Linked DNA regions of Homo sapiens: regions 2 and 3 are each linked to region 1. Evidence: promoter capture Hi-C in human tissues and cell types (Jung and others, 2019). All regions are on one chromosome and are shown on one strand. The core of a region is centred on a gene start or on the middle of the fragment in contact, and the rest is flanking DNA. Distances in the headings are between cores, read along the strand shown. Region 1 holds the start of RAP1GAP (RAP1 GTPase activating protein). Region 2 overlaps USP48 (ubiquitin specific peptidase 48). Region 3 overlaps ALPL (alkaline phosphatase, biomineralization associated).

What was found. The method cuts DNA at HindIII sites, captures the fragments that hold promoters and counts their contacts. A contact is called where the count stands out against the background at its distance.
Region 2: a fragment that was not itself captured here is called in contact with the fragment with the promoter of RAP1GAP in region 1 in 2 of the 25 tissues and cell types used here (IMR-90 fibroblasts and pancreas).
Region 3: a fragment that was not itself captured here is called in contact with the fragment with the promoter of RAP1GAP in region 1 in 4 of the 25 tissues and cell types used here (H1 embryonic stem cells, heart right ventricle, liver and 1 more).

The regions. Positions count from the first base shown.
Region 1 is chr1:21,666,756-21,671,410 of GRCh38, reverse strand. RAP1GAP (RAP1 GTPase activating protein) reads left to right here and starts at 2,054. Exons shown (of 25, transcript NM_002885.4): 1 at 2,054-2,157. RefSeq lists an enhancer at 135-1,334 and a silencer at 1,983-2,132. The HindIII fragment of the contact is 12,626 bases long and covers 1-4,655 here.
Region 2 is chr1:21,745,059-21,749,645 of GRCh38, reverse strand. USP48 (ubiquitin specific peptidase 48) reads left to right here. Exons shown (of 27, transcript NM_032236.8): 7 at 1,375-1,508; 8 at 2,497-2,579. Among named protein-coding and RNA genes, the nearest start is that of USP48, 36 kb to the left of the region's middle. The HindIII fragment of the contact is 4,676 bases long and covers 1-4,236 here.
Region 3 is chr1:21,551,845-21,556,428 of GRCh38, reverse strand. ALPL (alkaline phosphatase, biomineralization associated) reads right to left here. Exons shown (of 12, transcript NM_000478.6): 2 at 2,287-2,451. The coding sequence starts at 2,347. Among named protein-coding and RNA genes, the nearest start is that of LINC02596, 32 kb to the left of the region's middle. The HindIII fragment of the contact is 6,989 bases long and covers 1-4,584 here.

The DNA of each region.
Region 1 (4,655 bases), core at 805-3,304:
GCCCCACCCAGTACATGCTGCCCTTGAAGGTCTATAGGCATTCTGCTGGCATTTCCTAAGTAGGATGTATTTGACCAAGCATCTCCCAGGACCAGAGCCCTGCAGGACATACCTGTCTAGGGCAGTTGCTATGCCCCACAGTCCCTTCACCATCATCCCCAGAAGCGCCTCGGCCAGCCTCATTCAACTTCTTGCCTTTTTATTACAGTGTTTGAGCCAACTATATAGTCCTGGTGTATTCCTAGGCAGGAGATCAAAGGGCCCCCCGGGTTGGGTGGTCCATGAGTGAGCATGTGATACCGCAGGAGTCTTCCTCCTGCCCTGACAACTTGCCTTGTACTACCAGTGCTGCTCAGGATGTCTGCAGCCACGAAGCTTCATTATAAATGCAGGAGCTCAGGCTCCAGGCCCACTGAATCTGAATCTGAGTCTACAGACCGCTCCTGCACTCTTAGAAGTTTGAGAAACCCCCCTGGGCTGGGGTCTCTTTCCCATATACAGCTAGGGAAGCTTGCTGGAGGGAGGACTGAAAAGAACAAGTGCCTGATCTACCTTCCCCTCTGCCCTTTCACAGGTGGGTGGATGCGTGGGAAGAGGGTGGGGCATTTCCTGCTATTCCCCCTTATTCACCTTTTCTCCACGGGGATTAGAGTCTTGACCGGAAAACATGGCTCTGGTCCCCAGCCCCTATGGGACTGAAAACCCGGAGGCTTGCATGTCTCAGATCCTCCAGAGGCTGATGTAAGAGTTGCTGAAGACCTCGGATCTTTCCTTTTGTGAAATGCAGCCCATGTGGCCGGGAAAATAGTGGGAGCTGGAAGTAACAGTTGTGGTTTTAAGCACACAGTAGATGCTCAAGAAATATATTGAGTACATGTCTTGGACTTTCCCCTCCCTAAATATTATCTGTCAAGTGGGCCTATTGGACTTGTTGACCTTGGAGGGCCCTGTCGGCTTGACCCACCAATTCGAAATGGTTGAGAAAGAGGTCTGTCTTTGTACCTTTTGCAGCCTGTTTTCCCAGTTCTTAGAACATTGGGGTGAGATCCAGAGATTTCAGAGATCCCCCTGGAACACGAGTGTTCTGTGACGAGTTCATGACCTTGGAGCCACCAACCATACCCCTCACCCGTTGTCCCCAGTTCTGGCCTTGCCGACCCACTGCGTGTTTCTTTGCTTCATGTGGGCTGTTCCCCGGGGAGGGAGCTCAGTGGAGAACAGAAAGAGGTGTGGGTGAGGGCTCCCCCTTGGTGGGGAGTGGGGCACAGGAGCCTCAGGCTCTGTTGACCATCAAAGAAGGGACTCGAGTGGGCAGGCCGCTCACTTGCTGTGGACCTTGGGCAAGTCTCTAACTCTCCCTGGGCCTTGGAAGTCAGGCCGAGGTGATCTCTGCCGCCCCCTCCCTGCCTGGGTTTTCACTCTTGTTCTGATCCCACTCTCTTCCGGGTGCCTCCCTTCCACTTCTCCGTAGCCTGTGGCTCCCCTCCCCACACCCGCCCTGGGCCCGGGTTAGGCTGGGGCGGGGGCGAGCTGCCCAGTCCAGAGACAAAGTCCAAGAGCCGCGAATGGGCTGGCGAGGGTCAACCGCGTGGCCTCTGCCAGGAAGCGCGCCGAGCGCCCGGGTGAGGAGGGCGTCAGCCAGGGCACAGCAGCTTTCTCGCCCAGCGAAGCCTGTGCGCCTTCCTCCCGCGCCTGCAGACAAGCGGAGCCCATGGGGGCCGTGGGCCCCACCTATCCCGACGTCTCCACTTGATCCAGAAGTTGTCCCAGTCCCCTTGGAGCATGAGCTGTTGCCTGGACAGCTGGGCTGTCGCCCAGGTTCTGCCACTGTCTAGCTGTGTAACCTTGAGCCAGTCCCTGCCCCTCTCTGGTCCTCAGTTTCCCCACCTGTAAAATGGGGGCACCGAGAACCCTCCTCCAGGACCTGCGGCGGGGCGGGGCGGCAGGGCGGGGGCCTCCCCGCCGCTCCCGCGCCCGCGGCTTGGGCTCCGCAGTGAGTGGGGAGCGGCGCCGGGGAAGGAGCGCTCCGCGGTCATGTGACGTCCCCCTCCCCGAACTGCGGCGGCGGCGAGCGCCGGCCGCATCTGAGCAGAGCTGCAGCGGCGGCCGCGGGCACCAGAGTGCCGAGCCCAGGACGCCCCCGGCCCAGGCCCTTGGGTGAGTGCGCCCCGCCAGGGCTGCGGCCCTGGAAAGGGGAAGGGGACAGAGGTGTCCAGACTCCCGTCGGCTCGCAGCGAAGACCCCGCGCGGGCGGGCGGGGACGGAGGGTGGGGGCGAACGCGTGGGGGACCCGGGTCTCCAGGGGCGAGGGGTGGGCGCAGCTGGGCTCGCGCAGCCCGGTCTTGACAGCAGCTGGAGAAGTGGGGGGAGGCCTGGACTGAGCCGGCTGAACCCCCAGCCTGTTGGACTTGGTCCAGGCCGCGGCCAGGGGGCTTTGGTCCCACCCCCCTGGGTGGGTGGGGAGTCCAGTTTTCCGCCCACCTCGAGGTGGGGGCGCCTGGGGTTTAGAGGAGGGACTGTGGGAAGTGGGCGCGTTTCCTCCATCCCTGGGGAGGGGCCCAAGCCCTAGCGCCCCCCAGAGGGTGGCGCTCCTGTCCTCAGAGGAGGGAAGTGGGGGCCTCAGATCAAGGACCCTGAGCGGGGAGGGCGGTGATGTCCTTGCATCCCCAGAGACAGGACGCATTCCCCTGTCCCTGACCCCCGCGGCAGAGCGGGGCACACGCGTCACGAAGTTGGGCGCCCCCTCGTCGCCTCCCCTGGCTCGGCAGGATCTGAGGACTCGGTGGGAATTCACGGGGCGGTTTCCGTGCCCTGCAGGGTTTGGTGCCAGCTGCGGGGCGCCTGGGCTTGGGGAAGAAACCTTGTGTACGCACACCTGCACACACACACAGTCTCCGGAGGTGAGCGGCCCCCTCCCTACCATAACAGACCCCAGCCTGTGCATGCCCTCGGAGTCCTTGTTGGGGTCATAGCACAGGCCCGGTGGTGGGGTCAGGAAGAACATCCACTGTTCTCAGGGCTCATTGGCCTCTGTCCCCGGGCTCCATTCCCCTCCCTGCCAAGTCAGAGGTCAGGCCCCTGGGGCGGCAGGCAGGAAGGACACTGAGGGAAGGGGCACTGAGGCAGGAGGGGCACTGAGGGAAGCTGGCCAGGTGGAAGTAGGAGAGAAAGGCAATGGGGGTGAGATGGTACCACTTCCTCCCCATATGAGGCTCTCAGGAGGCTCCTGGCCCCCCCTGCACAGGTAGTGGTCCCTCCTTCCTGAGGGTGTTTGGGGGAAAACGCTATGGTTGGGGCACTGGGGAAGGTTGCCTCGCAGATGAAACAGAACATTGGCCAAAGGTGTCCCTGAATGGGCTTCTGGACTGGCACAGGGCCCTGAGGGCTGTGGCTGAGTGGGGAGGCAGTGATCAGGTCCAGCTGGCCATGGGGGCCCCCCATTCCCTTCTCCATGACCTCAGCCTCACTCTGAGAGCCCCCAGCAGCTGGAAGGTCTGGTAAGGGGTGCGTGTTCCTTGATGGCCTTGGGAAGGGTTCCAGGGTAATGATTAATCCTCAGGTGGCACGAGCAATTTCCCCCTTCACAGCAATATTTCAGGGCAGGCGCTGAAGCCTCCATTGCACAGGTGAGGAAACTGAGGCTCGGAGAGGCTAAATGAACTGCCTGAGGTCACCTAGTCACCTTCAGCAAGGTCTAGAATCGTGGTACTCTGACTCTTGATGGGAGAAGATCTCCACAGCGGTGGAGAGGAGGAAGGGTGAACGCCGTGGTGGAGTGGTCCATGTGGACCTGCTCCCCTTTGCTGCCAGGAGGTGAGGGTGCCTGTGGCTGGAAGCTGGGTCAGGTTGAGGAGAGGGTCCAGAGTCCTAGGCTTGCCTTGCCACCCCTTCCCATGGAGGGAGGGTTGTCCCGTGGAGCACCATAATGGTGCTTTCACCCTGGGACCTTCCCAGCTTGCTTGGGCAAAGCCCTCTCCTCTTCTCTTCTTCCCAAGGTGCCTGCCTGGCAGGGGTCTCAGGAGGCCCCTCTCCTGGCTCTAACTACCTTCCACCCTTAGGAGACAAGAAGGATTCTTCCTTTGGCCTCTTGGAGGGCAGCAGGGAGAGAGGTCTCTGCCACTTAGGCCTCAGGCTCCCACAGCAGGGCCTCCACCTCCCTCTCACCTGGCCCTGCCCCTGCCCTGCTGTCAAATTCTGGGGCCAAGAGGCCCTTTGAGGACTCCTCGGGCAGATCTGTCCTCCATGCTGCCATCTGTCTACGGAGGCCTTTGTCCTGGCTGTCAGAGGCTGCTGAGCAGCCGCATGTGCTGTGCAAACAACCGAGACCTGAGCACGGCCAGACACAAACGCAAATACAGTTAGACTGACAGATACCCTGAGACCCAGACACAGGAACACACGGGCACACCCAGGCCAAGACCCCTGCCCCCGACTCTGCCTGACACACAAGCACTGAGAGTCACACCATCCAGATGCTGGCACGTGTGTACACACAGAGAGACGGAGGTTGTCAGCAAGGAGAAGAGCCTTTTCAGAAGCCCTCGTCTTCTGTCGTCTGCCTCCATTATCTCCTCCAGGGTGCACACATGGTACACGCGCATGCAGGAAGAACACGAGGATGCCCTACGCCCTTAAAAATGAACCTGGCAGACACG
Region 2 (4,587 bases), core at 649-3,148, 78 kb before region 1:
TGGTGACAGAGCAAGACCCTGTCTGTAAAAATAAAATAATGAAAAAAAAATTTTTTTTTAATTTGCAGACTGGATGTGGAGAGTAAGAGTAAGAGGGGAGTCAAGGATTACTAAGGTTTTTGGCCTGATCAACTGAAAGAATGGAGTTGCTCTAACTGAGATAGGGAGGACCTGGGAGGAGCAGGGTTGAGAGGAATTAGGAGTTTGGCTTTGAGCATGTTACGTTTGAGAGGTATAGTTCCAGGAAGAAGTCGTGGCTGGATAAAATCCCCAAGGGAGTGGGAGAGAGACAAGGACTGAGGCCTGGGACATTCAAATGTTAGGGATCAGGGAGGTAGGAGCAGCTGGCACAGGAGTCCCTGGAGGAATGCCAGTGAATTAGGAGGCAAGTCAGTGAGTGTGGTATCCTGGAAGCCAAGTGAAGAGATGATGGTACCAGTATTGCATTACTTACAATATGGTAAGTACAATATGGTACAAAAGCTTGAGCTCAGGAGTTTGAGTCTTCGGTTAGCTATGATTGGCTGCAATTAGCTTTATAGAAATATAAAGGCAAATTTTAAAAAGAAACCACTATCAGCTAAAATGTTTGATTTTTCTACACGTCTCTTTTTAGCTTTGTCTCATGAATATGTTTCAGTAATTTTAAACAAATATGTATATAATTTTGTATTCTGGTGCCCATATATCGTTTTTACACTACCCTCCTCCCTCCTGTTTTTTTCTTCATTTTTTTGAGACAGAGTCTCGCTTTGTTTCCAGGCTGGAGTGCAGAGGTGTGATCTCAGCTTACTGCAAGCTCCACCTCCCGGGTTCAAGTGATTCTTGTGTCTCAGCCTCCCGAGTAGTTGGGACCACAGGTGTGTACCACCATGCCTGGCTAATTTTTGTATTTTTAGTAGAGACGGGGTTTCACCTGGGCAGCCAGGCCGGTCTCGAATTCCTGGCCTCAAGTGATCCACCCACCTCGGCCTCCCAAAGTGTTGGGATTACAGGCGTGAGCCATGTTGCCCAGCCTTTTTGCTGTCTTTAAATGAATGTTGCATCAAAATACATGTGACATTTCTTTTTAAAACTTACTTTAGAATTCCCAGAAGTGGGATTACCAGGACAAAGAACCTAAAACAAGTATTTTTAATATCATACATTTGGGAAATAGGCACATCAGTTTTAAATATCAGTGTATTCAAATTGATAATGTCACTGCTGAACAGTTCCCATTACTTTTGTGTGTCCATTATTTATAGTAGCTGTTTTTAAGTAGCTTAAGTGAGAGCTATTAACTGAAATGAAATTATACTTTACATCAAGGGTTTTATCACTTGTTTTAAACCCATCTTCTTTTTAAAATTAATATGTCTTATTCTTGATCAGGAAGAAAAATTAGAAGGAGACAATCGCTATTTTTGCGAGAACTGTCAAAGCAAACAGAATGCAACAAGAAAGATTCGACTTCTTAGCCTTCCTTGCACTCTGAACTTGCAGCTAATGCGTTTTGTCTTTGACAGGTAAATGTGTGCAAATATTAGTGTTTGTTGTTCATTGTGGTCTACTATGTACAGACTTTACCATAGATGAGATGATAAAATGGTTGTAATTTGAAACTCTAGATTTGAGGATGAAAGTTATAGATGGAGGCTGTCATTTTGAAATGTCGATATTTCATGATTTTATCATAAAAAATTTTAAAGAAGCCAACCATATATAAATGATAACTAGAAAAGTAAAAAATCCTTACTTTTTTTATTCTAAGAAAGTATTAAAAACTGCAAGGGCCGGGTGCGGTGGCTCACGCCTGTAATCCCAGCACTTTGGGAGGCTGAGGCAGGTGGATCACCTGAGGTCAGGAGTTCGAGATCAGCCGGGCCAACATGGTGAAACCCCGTCTCTACTAAAAATACAAAAATTAGCCGGGCGTGGTGGCAGGCGCCTGTAATCCCAGCTACTGGGGAGGCTGAGGCAGGAGAATCACTTGAACCCAGGAGGCGGAGGTTGCAGTGAGCCGAGATTGCACCATTGTACTCCGGCCTGGGCAACAAGAGTGAAACTCTGTCTTGGAAAAAAAAAAAGAAAGAAAAACTGCAAGTAATTGAATTACCCTGACCTTCTGTATTGTCCTTTATTTTAAATAGAATAAATTTTGTACTCATTACACCCCCGCCATGGGAATGTATTTTTCATTTTATAATTAAAATCAAGGCAATGTTTGCACATGTGCATGTCTTCTGTAAAGCAGGATAATCTGTTTTGTGATTAAGTTGAAACTTCTGGAAAATAAGCTGTGTTTGGAATCAGCACTTCGCATTCACATTTTTTAACCTCATATTTGTCCAGCTATAAAACAATATTCTGTTTACTTCTAATTGTACATGTTTTGGAGGAAGATTGTGAAGTGAAAGCTAGCTACTGTTGAGTTTATTAAAATAGCTAATAGAGCTTATATATTGTATTATGATTGTTTTAAATGTAAATATAATCAGCTTTCCTCTTGGTTAGGCAAACTGGACATAAGAAAAAGCTGAATACCTACATTGGCTTCTCAGAAATTTTGGATATGGAGCCTTATGTGGAACATAAAGGTAATATTTTTACTGAGGAGTAAACATTATAATGCTCAGAGACTCTAACTTGTGATCGGCTTGTGATTAATATAGAATAGCAGTCAATTGCCAATTTTTGTTTGCTAATCTCTCTCTGGGAACCTCTGTCTGGGAACAAAGACTTTTTTAGGAGAGCCAAGATGTTAATTCCATTTTGTGTGAGTAAGCATATAGCAAAGATGAGGTGGTTCATCGATATGTACAGAATTAAGGGTATAAAAATAATTTGTAAAAAATGAAAAAGGTATTTTACTGTTTCTGAACCCGCACTTGCCACCTTAGTTTCAATACTATTATTTATCATTTCTCAAAACTAACAGTCTCCAAGCGCCTCTATTCACTTTTTTAAAAACGTTGTCCCAGAAACATTAGGTGGCATAATTCCAGTATTTATGCTTTCATTTTTCATATCTGCAACTACTGATACGCCCTAGGATGCTATCATTGTTTTAACAAGAAATAAGTACTGCTTTTTTCTTTTGGTAGTCTTCATCCTACCAAACAGGTTGAGTCTTACTAGAGAAAGGACTGTTTTACTTCCCTTTAAGGTTGATTGTAGTACTTATAAAATATTATGTATGTATGTATGTATTTTTGAGACGGAGTCTTGCTCTGTTGCCTAGGCTGGAGTGCAGTGACACGATCTCAGCTCACTGCAACCTCAGCCTCCCTTGTAGCTGGGAGGCTACAAGGGAGCCCAGCTAATTTTTGCACTTTAGGGTTTTGCCGTGTTGGCCAAGCTGGTCTCAAACTCCTGGCCTCAAGTGGGACACCTGCCTTGACCTCCCTAAGTGCTGGGATTACAGGCGTGAGCCACTGCCCCCAACCTGAAATTTTTAATGTAGAAATTATTTTATAAACTCTATCTCTTTCCAAAAAAATAAAAAATTTCTAGAGGCAGCTTACAATGGAAGCAAGCTGTAAAAACCTTTAAGAGACATTTCTGGAGGCAGCTTACAATGGAAGCAAGCTGTAAAAACCTTTAAGAGACATGATTGGGAAAGTTGGGGAGGAATGTGCTAAATAAATATGTAAGCTTTCAAATGTATGATACTCTTCAGTACTGTACTTTAAAATTTGTACCTCTGTGGAACAAGGAAACTGTTTTCAACTTCAGTTTTGGACTTCAATGTTAGATTGTTAAATTTTGTTGAATAAATAAACTTAGCTATAGTTCACTTTATGTAGTAGTTTGCTTCCTGCCTCCTTTGTTCAGGCAATTGAAATTGAGGAAAATCTAATGGGTTAGTGGCTTCCCAGTCCAGAAACTTAGGAGATGTGAAATGAGCACTTTGCTTGACTTGACTGGATGAGTTTGAATTGTTACTATTACTACTTACTAAGTTTATTATATATTTGCCCAGTTTATGCTATAAAGAAAATATTTATCAAAAGGACGTGTTAGATCAAAACCTGTAGAAATACTTAATTTTGGTATGTTGGTTTACTAAATATAGTATTTTTTATTTTTTATTAATTTGTTTTTGAGACAGGGTCTGGCTCTGTCGCCCAGGCTATAAATTGCATTGATGTGATCACGGCTCATCACGGACTCAGCCTCCTGGGCTCAAGCTGGAACTACAGGCATATTCCACCAGGCCCAGCTAATTTTTAGTTATTTTTTTTTAGAGACGGGGTCTTGAACTCCTGGGCTCTAGTGATCCTCCTACTTCAGCCTCCCGAAAGTGCTGGGATTACAGGCATGAGCCACCATGTTTGTCTCCTTAATTTTTAAATAAATGAATGAATAAATAAATAAATAAATATTATCTACTCATTTTAGAATTGTTAGGACTGGTAAAAGCAATCTAGTGGTTTATAGTTATAGGCTTGTCTTTTACACGCTGTCGTAATGCTTGCTGTACCTTATATAGGTAGAAGACTAAAAACAATTAACTTTTGTTAATTGCATAGGATTTGTTCTAGATAATTTGGGAAATTCAGAAAGCATAAAGAAAAGAAATACAAACCATATGTAATTTTGTCA
Region 3 (4,584 bases), core at 1,731-4,230, 120 kb after region 1:
ACTCAAGCGATCCTCCCACCTCAGCCTCCCAACGCACTGGGATTACAGGCGTGAGCCACCATACCAGGCCTGCTAAAGCCACCACACCAGGTCTGCTGAAGCTGTTTTAAGGTACACATTTTGCCTTGGAGCTATGGAAGGGATAGAGAAAGACAGTCATTCATAAGAAATGTGAATTCAAGTCAAATCTGAGCCAGGTCTAAGTGGGGATCTGAATTTATAGTATAAGAATTGTAAACCAAGAAATCAACATAAAAACTGGCCTAGAATTAGTTGAACCCCTAGTGTCCTGAAAACACCATGCCATGCTGTGGAAACACTTCCGCGTGAATCTCCAACAGAAAAACAAAAAACTCGGCCGGGTGCGGTGGCTCATGCCTGTAATCCCAGCACTTTAGGAGGCCAAGGCAGGCGGATCACCTGAGGTCAGGAGATCGAGACCATCCTGGCTAACATGGTGAAACCCCGTCTCTACTAAAAGTACAAAAAAATTAGCTGCGCGTGGTGGCGGGCACCTGTAGTCCCAGCTACTTGGGAGGCTGAGGCAGGAGAATGGCGTGAACCCGGGAGATGGAGCTTGCAGTGAGCCAAGATTGCGCCACTGCACTCCAGCCTGGGCGACAGAGAGAGACACTGTCTCAAAAAAAAGAAAAACAAAAAACTCCTGTTGAAGATGAGTTCACTAGTGAGAACTACAAATGACAAGAAAAAGGCTGGGCACAGTGGCTCACACCTGTAATCCCAGCACTTTGGGAGGCCAAGGCGGGTGGATCACTTGAGGTCAGGAGTTCGAGATCAGCCTGGCCAACATGATGAAACCCCGTCTCTAATAAGAATACAAAAAATTAGCCGGGTGTTGCGGCGCACGCCTGTAATCCCAGCTACTCAGGAGGCTGAGGCAGGAGGATCACTTGAACCTGGGTGGCGAAGGTTGCAGTGAGCTGAGATCACGTCACTGCACTCCATCCTGGGCAAACAGAGTGAGAGTCTGTCTCTGTCTCAAAAAGAAAGTGTCAGGCGTCTGAGCCCAAGCTAAGCCATCATATCCCCTGTGACCTGCACATATACATCCAGACGGCCTGAAGTAACTGAAGAATCACAAAAGAAGTGAAATTTAAATGGTCTGTTCCTACCTTAACTGATGACATTCCACCACAAAAGAAGTGAAAATGGCCGGTCCTTGCCTTAACTGACGACATTACCTTGTGAAATTCCTTCTCCTGGCTCATCCTGGCTCAAAAAGCTCCCCCACTGAGCACCTTGTGACCCCCACTCCTGCCCGCCAGAGAACCCCCCTTTGACTGTAATTTTTCCTTTACCTACCCCTATCTTATAAAACGGCCCCACCCATATCTCCCTTGGCTGACTCTCTTTTTGGACTTAGCCCGCCTGCACCCAGGTGAAATAAACAGCCTTGTTGCTCACTCAAAGCCTGTTTGGTGGTCTCTTCACTCGGATGCGAGAGAAAAGAAAGGAAAGAAAGGAAAGAAAAAGAAAAGAAAGAAAGAAAGAAAGAAAAGAGAAAGAAAGAAAGAAAGAAAAAGAAAGAAAGAGAGAAAGAAAGAAAGAAAGAAAGAAAGAAAGAAAGAAAGAAAGAAAGAAAGAAAGAAAGACAGACAGACAGACAGACAGACAGACAGGCCAGGCGCGGTGGCTCACGCCTGTAATCCCAGCACTTTGGGAGGCCGAGGCAGGCGGATCATGAGGTCAGGAGATCGAGACCATCCTGGCTAACACGGTGAAACCCCATCTCTACTAAAAATACAAAAAATTAGCCTGGCGCGGTGGCGGGCACCTGTAGTCCCAGCTACTTGGGAGGCTGAGGCAGGAGAATGGCGTGAACCCAGGAGGCAGAGCTTGCAGTGAGCCAAGATGGCGCCACTGCACTCTAGCTTGGGCAACAGAGCGAAACCCTGTCTCAAAAAAAAAAAAATTAAGAAAGAATATATATAATATATATGAAATATATATATGGAAAAATATATATATGAAATATATATATGGAAAAATATATATGTGGAAAATATATATTTCCTTGTATATATATATTTTCCTTGTATATATATATTTCATATATGTGTATGTGTGTATATATATATATATGGGAAAAGAGTGACCTATCCAACTAACACATGCAAGTAGCAGGGCTGAGGTTTCCTGCTCTGAACACTGTTTTCAGCTCTTAAATACTTTGGATGGTTCTGGGACCTTAAAACATAGACACTGCCCTCATCATACCCCATCTGCACCACCTTTTTATGCCTCCACCTGTGTCCCCAAGCATACCTGGCACTAAGGAGTTAGTAAGGCAGGTGCCAATGGCCAGTACTAAGAATGGTGAAATCATGGTGCACCCCAAGACCTGCTTTATCCCTGGAGCCCAGAGATGCAATCGACGTGGGTGGGAGGGGGTGGGCTGGCAGTGGTCAGATGTTAACTGATGTTCCAATCCTAGAAATTAAAAAAAGAGAAAAAGAGGCATGTGGGGCACAGCTCTAGAGATCCTTTTTCACTCACTTATTCATTCCTTGATTCATTCAACAAGTATTCGGTGAGCACCTATTACAGACCAGGCATGGGGCTCAACATTGGGATGCCAAACCCAGCTGGTCCCTGTCTCAGGAAGCTTAACCACACAAACAGCTGTGTCAGTGTCAATGAGTTCCATGCTGCAAAGCAGTTCCGTCCCATTTCCTAAGTGAATTTCCACTTTCAATTCATCTGAAGCCCCCTACCTCCCAGAGTCCAATCTTTTGGTGCAGTGTTTCTCAAACTGTAAGGAGAGCAAGCATCTGAATCCCCCAAGGGCTTGTTACAACAGATTCCCGGCCCACTGGTGAGGCTCCGATTGTATTTCTAATAAGCTCCCAGGAGAAGCTGCTGCTTTGCTGCTTTGCGGACCACACCTTGAGAAGCCCTGTTCTACAGCACTCGGTCTTCAGCCTTTTAATTACCTGTGTCCCAGGAACATCAGGGACAAAACAGAGTGCACCCCTTCTTTCAGGACCCCTACATTTGCTACATTCTCTTCTAGAGCTTGTCGTTTATGGTAAGAGATATAAAAATGGTAGGAGTCACATATGTGAAAAAACTGGCTGGTAAGTGTGGCCATTTCTGGGTGGTGACATCACAGACAACTGATTTTTCTTTTCCATTGTCTTTTCTGCATTTCCAAAATTTTCTTTTGTGCTGAGATACAGTATTATCTTTACAATTTTTAAAAAATATATATATATTTAAAGTCGGATGTAATTGAAGAGTTTAGGTGGAAAAAAAAACTGGAAGGAAATACACCAAAACATTAACTGTGGTTTTCTCTGGGTGGTAGGACTATGAATGATTATTTCCTCTTTATTTTTTTGAATTTTCCAAGTAGCCTAAAACAAGCATGTATTAATGGCATAAGAATGTTTTTACACTGTGGTCTTCCTGTTAAATCACAAAGAACAACCCCACTGGCAGCTGAGAAATGTACTAACCCTGTTGCACATGAGTTACAAGACAAAGAATTTTAAGTGGCAAGAGTTTCACTGGGAAATGTTATTGCTTCAGCCAAAACCAAGATATGACACCATTTGTTGTGGGAAACAGCAGTAATACACACTCTACCGTTAGAAAAGTGTTGTGACAGATAAGACACCACTCTAGTCCAATTATTATATGTTAAGTAAAAACAAAATAAAACATTTTTTAAAAGTTGTTTAAAGAAAAAAAGCCAGGCATGGTGGTAACATGCCTGTAATCCCAGCTACTTGGGAAGCTGAGGCTGGAGGAAGTTCGCTTCAGGCCTGGAGTTGGAGACCAGCCTGGGCAACACAGCGAGACCCTGTCTCTAAGAAAAATTTTTGTATTTTAATTTTTTAAAAGTTTCTTTTCTTTTTAAAAATTCTTCTCTTTGCAGCTCCAGCTCAAAGGAAAAAGATTTTTTCTTTTTCTTTTTTTTTTTTTTGAGACGGAGTTTTGTTCTTGTTGCCCAGGCTGGAGTGCAATGGCACAACCTCGGCTCACTGCAACCTCCGCCCCCCGGGTTCAAGCAATTTTCCTGCCTCAGCCTCCCGAGTGGCTGGGATTACAGGCTTGCGCCACCATGCCCGGCCAATTTTGTATTTTTAGTAGAGATGGGGTCCATGTTGGTCAGGCTGGTCTCGAACTCCCGACCTCAGGTGATCTGCCCACCTTGGCCTCCCAAAGTGCTGGGATTACAGGTGTGAGCTGCCGCGCCCATCCAAGATTTTTTTTTTTAATTTAAAAATAGAGAAAAAGAAAAGGAGAAAAGGAAGGAGGGAGGGGAGGGGAGGGGAGGGAGGAAAGGGAAGGGGAGGAAAGGGAAGGGAAGGGAAGGGAGAAAAAGAAACCACTACCACCAGAAGAAGGATCTTGATTCAACCTTAAAAACACGCAAATGGCCGGGCGCGGTGGCTCACGCCTGTAATCCCAGCACTTTGGGAGGCCGAGGCGGGCGGATCACGAAGTCAGGAGATCGAGACCATCCTGGCTAACACAGTGAAACCCCGTCTCTACTAAAAATACAAAAAATTAGCCGGGAGAGGTAGCGGGCGCCTGTAGTCCCAGCTACTCAGGAGG